Regions from separate parts of the Homo sapiens genome. Here region 1 is linked to region 2. Evidence: promoter capture Hi-C in 16 types of primary human blood cells and fetal thymus (Javierre and others, 2016). All regions are on one chromosome and are shown on one strand. The core of a region is centred on a gene start or on the middle of the fragment in contact, and the rest is flanking DNA. Distances in the headings are between cores, read along the strand shown.

Region 1 (3,687 bases), core at 378-2,877, 590 kb after region 2:
TCTTAAGAGAAAAAAAAAGATACAGAAAAGATGGAGGTTATGGATCAGACATAGGCATCACCAAAAAAGCAGTTTCACTTCTGGGTAATTTGGGGCAGCCAGTCTAACCACAGAACATCCGCAGTGCTATTTAAAGAACTAGAGAGATGTCACACTCATTATGACACCTGCAATCATTAAATCTGAAAATGACTTTAGCTAACTTCTCATGAGTGCCTCGCTCAGGACACCTTCCTTGTGTGTATTTAAGATCTAGAGTAGGAAGAGTCAATTGAGTTTCTCTTATCTTAAAGTAAAAGACAAACATCAGAAGGTCTCTGCTTTTATTTGCAAGAAATACAATTCTCCTATAATATATACTAGAGTTGACCCTGGAATAGATTGTTCTGTCATTTTCCTCATTTCTTCCTTTTCCTCACTTATAGCAGAAAAGTCTTACCCATTCCCCCACTCTAAGTGTCCCCTCTGAGCTGAGAAACTTGATGATCTTGTCACAGGTAAACAGGCAAAAGAACATCCCTGCACTTTCCACTGTCCTAGGCATGCGGCTGAATGCAGGGCTCTGCAGAGAGGAACCATCTCCACGCTGTTGTGCCTGTAGTATTGGGGCACCAGGTCCTCCACCTACATGATGAGAATAGTCTTTATAACTAATAATCCTTATATCAGAATAATTAGACAAACCTTATATTCTGAGGGGTACTGTCATTCTCTTAACCTAATTCCTGGAATCCAGTCCCTTATCTGTCTTAATCAAATTTTCTAAAAGTTCCTTCTCACTTCCATTGACTTAATGACTATTGTAGCTTTAGCTTCCTTTTGCATCCAAGACCACAGACTTCCACAAGTCTGCTTGATTTTCTTTTCCAAACACAAGGAGTCATTTTACTCATTGATTGCTATCAACCTATGACTCCTGATAGGCCTTATCATGTTTTAAAACCCTCATCCAAATTCCAATAGCTCTGTTTTCTGGAACCTGAACTGCCCTTCCACCCCCAGCCACCCAAATCTCTCCTATTTCTGATTCCCTGAGAGAATGTTTTCCCTCTCTCATCCATTCCATGAAGCAACACATTCTTTCATGGATTTACTGGAATTCGAGGGAACTGCCATTGCAGGTAAATCTTTCACATTCTTATGATGAATTCAGAACTCCAAAGTAGCAAAAGTAACATGATGAAGTCCAGATTAAAGTATTTTGTTCATCATTCAGATGGATTTTCACAGCCAGCTTGTATGTAATGATTAAAGTTGTAACCAGGAGCAGACTCCAGGCCATTTCTTGCTTTGCCTGGGAAACCTATTTAATGTAACAACTTCAGATCACTCTGTCCCTTGAGGCTTCTCTCCCACACCTATTAAAGAACACCACCAATAGAGATAGCTACCTAGATGACAACTGTAAAAAAGAGGAAATTTTGTCAAAGACAACCCCTATCATGGAGCTAAAATAATCAAGACTCTATCTAATGTCAAGCAACTTCCTTCTTAATATATACTTTTAGCTCCTGTACATATGTATTTATTTTTACTGCAAAATGTGAGATTACCATGTGCCTACCATATTCTAGGCACTGGGGATAACTGTGTACTGCTAGGCAGGAGGCCTGCCCTTAAGGAGCTGACCTTTCCCTGGCTGCTTGATTCTTTTTCTTCTTTATCTTTTTTATTGGCCATATCAGAAGCAGCTGTGAAACCAATTCATGCTTGTCTCTACTCTGCACTAACTTCTTCATTCATTTATTTAGTCTCTTCCTCATATCAGTGCTTCTAGATGAAACATTTTTTCTCTCCTAATATGCTTTTCCAAAATAAATTACTCATTTTGAGGTGCTTTTAGCACTATGAAAGACACTTTAGTGGCCCTCCTTAAAGCTGTCAACATGCACCCACATAGCCAAAGGTATCCTGTTGGAGTTGAACTGTACTATCCACAACCCAATATAACATGAGATAGTTGGGTTTCAAATGGTTTTGTAAGGTTGCCTTTCATTGGCGGGTGGTAATTCATCTTCCAATCAGGCCATCATCAACAAAAACACTTTGTGAGTAGAATACAATAACTCTTCTTTATACACTCCTGAGGTTATCTGAGTAAAATTTCTCATACCAAGCAACATTTCCTCAGTCTTTGAGCTTGCTCACCTTACCCTACTCTTATCTTCCCCAATCTCAGTCAGTGTGATATAGAAATAGAAACTCATTTTAGTACCCTCCTCGAGAGGCTGCTGTGTATGCCACCACTTTGTCTTTCAAACACTGATATGGATTGGCTGTGTCCCCACGCAAATCTCATCTTGAATTGTAGTTCCCATAATCCCCTTGTGCCATGGGAGGGACCTTGTGGGAGGTAATTGAATCATGGGGGTGGTTACCCTCATGCTGCTTTCATGACAGTGAATAAGTCTCACAAGATCTGATGGCTTTATAAAGGAAAATTCCCTGCACAAGCTCTATTGCTTGCCACCATGTAAGACGTGGCATTGCTCCTCATTTGCCTTCTGTCATGATTGTGAGGCCTCCCCAGCCATGTGGAACTGTGAGTCAATTAAACCTCTTTCCTTTATAAATTGCCTAGTCTCGGATATGTCTCTATTAGCAGCATGAGAACTGACTAATACAAACACACACACAACACATAGTGTTACTCAGAGTGCTTCTGTTATGCACATGGCTACTAAAAAGTCAAATTAACATTTAAGGAAATCACTCCCATCTATTGCGTCAAAACTGACTGAGCCAAAGGCAAACCCATGGAAGAATCAGAAATCAGTGTATCCTGAACTAACTTGAAAATCCTTACTCTAGACTGCAAATCAAATTTCCAGCTGATTTTTAGTGATGAACACTGCAGGTACACTTTTTGGGTAGCTTATGGACAATAAAATACCAATACGTAGTTCTCTTCTGGTCCATATAGATCAAAGCAAAGCCATTTACAAAAGATTTTCCTGCTTCATAATCCCCATGAAGTTGAAATTCACCTCTCTCAGACTTAATATTGTTTCTTTCTTCCCACAGTAAAGACCCGCCGCCTGTGAGATGACCCAGGCAGAAGTTCAACACTTTGGTACTTCGTGCCTCAGGCCTTTCACTAAGAAAATTGAGTGTGAGAACTTTATCTCCAAAAGTGTCTGCCTGTTGTGACATCTCTCCTGGGTCTCTGCAACCCTAAATTCTTCATTTCTTTTCAGAATTTAGCTGAAAAGCACTTTTTGCTGCCTGTTTATCTCAATGTCTGTCTCTCACTGCTAGTATTTATTGCTTATCACTGTAAGTCTTCATTGAATGTAATCTGTTTGGGGATACAGTTGGCATGAAAAATGCTTCACCAAATGAAGTTGTAAAGTATTATACATAAATACTTAATTCCTGGATTTATTTATTATCATCATTACTTATTTACCACCATAGGCATCCAGGACACCTTTGAAAGAAATAAATCTGGTGGGTTGCTCTCCCAAATTTTATCAGAATATCTTATAAGATATAAATTAATGTCATTATGTAATAAGTATTAAAATTCCTTATATGGCTAGTACACATTTTAGTTTATGAAAACTTGTACATATCTAATCTTCCCAGCCTTCCAATGGTGAAAATGATTGAGTCTCCAGGTTACAGGTCAAGAAACTGAGACTCAGAAAGTTTGAGTGATATTCCCAAGGTCACGTGAATAACGAA
Region 2 (4,041 bases), core at 17-2,516:
CCGGCCATGAGCGCGAGCGACGGCGAGGAGATGTGGTCCAGCAGATCGCCGGGTTCGAGCGCCTGGTGGTGGTGGTGGTGGTGGTGGTGGTGCGCCAGAGGCACCGTGGAAGTGGACGTGCACGGCACGCTGTTCATCGTGTGGTACGTGGCGTCCGGCTTGAAAGGATGGCTCTTGCCCTGGGACACGGCGATGTCCACGGCCGCCAGCGCCTCGGCCCGCGCCAGCAGCGTCTCGTCCAGGCTGGCGAAGAGGTTGCTCTGCAGCTGCAGGCGACACAAACCAAACCAAAAAAACCACAAAACCAAAAGAGCAAAACAAAACAACAGAAGAAACACACACACAGGCCGGAAAGCACAGCATGCGAAGGGCAAACACAAAGCAACCAAAATAACAACGGGTTTGGGGGCAGTGGAGAGCGGGAAAGACGGAGAGGGGGCACATTGACGACCAGGGAGGGGGCAGACGAGAAGGGATGGGAGCGTGGAGAGGGGGACAGAAGTAGGGAGAAAGGGGGACACAAGAACACATTCCGGAAACGGGCGTGGGAGACGAAAAAGAGGGAAAAGAAGAAATGGAAATGTAACTCGCAGCTGGGGACCCGTGTCACACACCCGAGCACGCACAGAGACTGCCTTTCTGAGGCGTGAAATTAACAGAGAAAGTAGAGGGAAGTCGAGAGTCCTGGCCCCAGCGCTCCCTACTCCGATCGCAGGCGCCTGACGCGGAGGCAGAGGCAGACAGGAACACGACATTAAGGGCCGCCGGACAAAACGTGCCTCGCTGCGGGACTGCTCTACACCCCCTGCCCGCAGTTCCCCGCACCGGGACCTGCACACACCAGCCCCCGACATGCAGCGTTTCGGAGACGGGGAGGGGCGGGCGCGCGGGCCGGGGCCGCGGGCGTGGGGCGCTTACCGGCGGCGTGGGCAGGCAGGCCCGCCGGATGGCCTCGGAGCTGGAGTGCAGCGACGGGTACTTGTGCTCAGGGAGGGTGGGATGCATGGCAAAGTGAGGCTGCTTGCTGTTCATGGACATCATCGTGGCGGCTTGGCATGTATATCCACAAACACTCCGAAAGTCCGCGGGAAAGTGCGTACGCCGGCTCACCCGGCCTCCCTTCGGAGGCTGCAGCCGCGGCGGTCGCGGCGGCTGGCGGCGGCCCCGCCGCGGGCTGCTGCTGCTGCTCCTGCTGCTGCCAGGCGCTCCCTCTGACCGCGCAGAGCGCCGCGCGCCGGCCTCGCGGTCCCGCTTCTCCGACAGCTCTAGCCCCGCGCGCCGACGGGATGCACTCCTCTAACACCTGAGCCCCACTTCTCGCGGCCGTCCCGGGGAGCTCTCGCGAGAGCTCGCGGCCCCACCGCGCTGACAGGCATCAGCTGTCTCCGTCTGTCTGACGCGCGCTCTCCTTCTCGGCGGCCCCGTGCGTCTGCGCGCGCGCGCGCTCGTCCGGCCGCGACCAGCGCGTGGGAGCCGCTCTTATAGTGACCACCAGCAAGGACAGCGCAGGTGATGCACCTGTAGCTACCCGGGCATGCGCACTGCCCGCCTCACCTTTCCCACCGTGGTCTGGAAAGATCAGAAGGTCCAGCTATTGTCTAAGGGTGGGCACCTTTTAGAATAAAAAAGACGAGATGCGCGCACGCCCCTCTATGTGTGTGTGTGTGTGTGTGTGTGCGTGCGTGTGTGTGTATGTGTGTATGTTTCTTCTCCCTGATAGCAAGCCTTGAATATATGAGCATTACTTAGGCATTCCTCCTCTTCGGGATGCCTAACAAGCTGTTGTATAATGTATACAGCTGGACATTTCTACGTTAAATTATGCCCGCGCATTCCTCTGTATACAGTATAAATAACAACACAGAAATGCAGAAGGTGCTGTCTTTTGCTGCAAGAACCTGTTTCTTTAAAGGTTTATAAATAGGTTCCTGGAGAATAATCGCGGTGACAGACATTTGTTTGAAGCAGTCAGACGCTATTGATTTCCATATAATTTAATTTCCTCCGCATACTTTTTTGTTGTTGTTGTGAATATAACTGTGTCAGGCACCGCCAGTGACAGCCACTTAGGAGCCACAAGGAGCGTGTGCTTTCTACTCGGGAAAAGCTGTTGAAATGAAATTGTGCATTTCTCTTATTGTTTGTCTCCTTCAACCGTGTACAAACCCACGTTTCAAACGAGCTCCGGGTGATCTAAGGCTTCTAGTAATCAAAAGGAAAAAACAGTTAACAGGGTGTAGTTGGGATCCTTCCTCCCCTCAGCGTACACACACACACACACACACACACACACACACACACACTTTATGCTGGGAACTCCAGGAAAACTGCTTCAGAGAAAAGGGAATAAGATGTTGAAAAGAGAACTTTCTTTTCCCTTCCATCTTTTTGGCTTTTTGCCTCATATCTCTGCCTGCTTATATATATTTTTTTCAATAGGAGACAGATCAAACTAACTTACAGGAAAGCTTGATTCAAAAATATTAAATCAAGCCAATTTGAAAGAACGGGGACAAGCTCTGGTCCAGTTTTTAAATTTTTAAAAAATTATTGTGAAATTAAGACCTAAAAAGAATAAATCAATTAGCCAACCTGTTATATGGCCCTTATGTGGTAGCAGATCAAGAGCCTCCCAGGGGAGCCACAGTTCAGGTGCCAAAGTCCCCAGGGAAGGAGCACTTGCTCGCGGTGATAATAACCTAACAGCCCAGATGTTATCACATCTGCGGTAAGAGAGCTGGAGAGCAGCAAGGGGCTGCTTATGGAAAGCAGAAATCAGATAATCTTTCTGTTCTCTCCCACACCAAGGAAGTCTGTATTTCCACCAAAGAGCAGATCTCATTTCTATAAACCTAAATTTGCGTTCCCGTGGATTTTATCTTTCCTCTGCACAAATGCATGTGTGTTTAGCATACCCACTCACCTACTCAGATTCCAAGAAGAGCCCACAGGCGTCACCATGGCTTTTTCTTTCTTTCTTTTCATGTTCCCCCCCACCCCCTCCCTTCCTTCTAGCTCCAGAGGGAAGTGAGAAGGATGTTCACTTGCTGGTGAGAGAAGGAGCTGGTTCCATCCATTACGCAGTCCCCTGGGAGCGCTAAATGCAACTTTATCTCAACGGGGAGTGGACGATGAGCAGGACGTCGCTAGAGGGAAAGAGTGAGTCCTACGGTAGTCATCACACCGGGAGTCCGGGCTTAACCTAGTCCTTCCTGACACCCCTGGTGGCCGTTCCCTGCGCTCTCTCTTGACGGGAAAGAAAAGGCCCCCACAGAGGGTGAGGGCCTGGAACCTGCCCCTCCCCTCTCAAGGAAGCGCTGGTCTTTAGGGACCCTGAAGGGTACAGGAGCAACAGAAAGGTAAACAGTACAGGTTTGCGGCCGGGTGGGGCCTCTGAGAGCCAGGTGAGCTCCTGAGTACCCAAAAGGCACCTCGGTTCACCCTCCAACCCTGGGAGGCTTCCATTAAACCCAGCGGAGAGATGCCACCTTAGCCTGAAGTTAGGAGTTAGTCCCACCAAGATTTCCTTCCCTGTTCACCTCTCTTTCGACAACAGGAATACCCCACCTTGGGGTGAGGCCAGATCTTTGCTTGGGGTATTGGGTGTTTTGATGGGACCAGAAACATGAGGGCTATGGGTACAATCCTCCCTCCCCCTCCCACCATGGATAGGAAGCCCATCTAGGATACATCCATCTTCACTATAGCACTTAGTGCAGAGTTTGTCACAGGAAAAGTACCCCACCAAAAAACACGTGTGTAGGAAGGAAGAGAGGCCAGTTTCGGGTAGCCTGGGGGAGGGGTGGTGGCCTAGGGGCTGTTCAACAATCCAGGGCTGGTTGGAGATTGCAGGAAGATCCCTGGGTGGGGGGATGGGGGGGTCTACATTCTCCTTAAAAAGGAGGGGTGTGTTTTCCCCAGGCAGAGCTGTAAATTTTTATTCCAGCCTGTTCTTTTTCAGGAGCCAATTATTTCACTCCGCCCTCATTAACTTGCTACCTTATCTTCCTTCCTCAAATTCTTGCTGAGCGGTAGTCTGGC

The links. Contacts are between HindIII fragments. The CHiCAGO score rates a contact against its expected background, and 5 or more counts as called.
Region 1: a contact is called between a fragment that was not itself captured here and the fragment with the promoter of POU4F1 in region 2, in 1 of 17 cell types (total B cells). The highest score is 5.8, in total B cells.

The regions. Positions count from the first base shown.
Region 1 is chr13:79,194,374-79,198,060 of GRCh38, forward strand. No RefSeq gene overlaps it. Among named protein-coding and RNA genes, the nearest start is that of RBM26, 210 kb to the right of the region's middle. RefSeq lists enhancers at 65-284, 545-664, 3,538-3,687. The HindIII fragment of the contact is 7,662 bases long and covers 1-3,687 here.
Region 2 is chr13:78,602,286-78,606,326 of GRCh38, forward strand. POU4F1 (POU class 4 homeobox 1) reads right to left here and starts at 1,267. Exons shown (of 2, transcript NM_006237.4): 1 at 919-1,267; 2 at 1-266. The coding sequence starts at 1,041. It overlaps OBI1-AS1 (OBI1 antisense RNA 1), which reads left to right. Exons shown (of 6, transcript NR_047001.1): 4 at 3,016-3,159. RefSeq lists a silencer at 1,058-1,217. The HindIII fragment of the contact is 4,390 bases long and covers 1-2,466 here.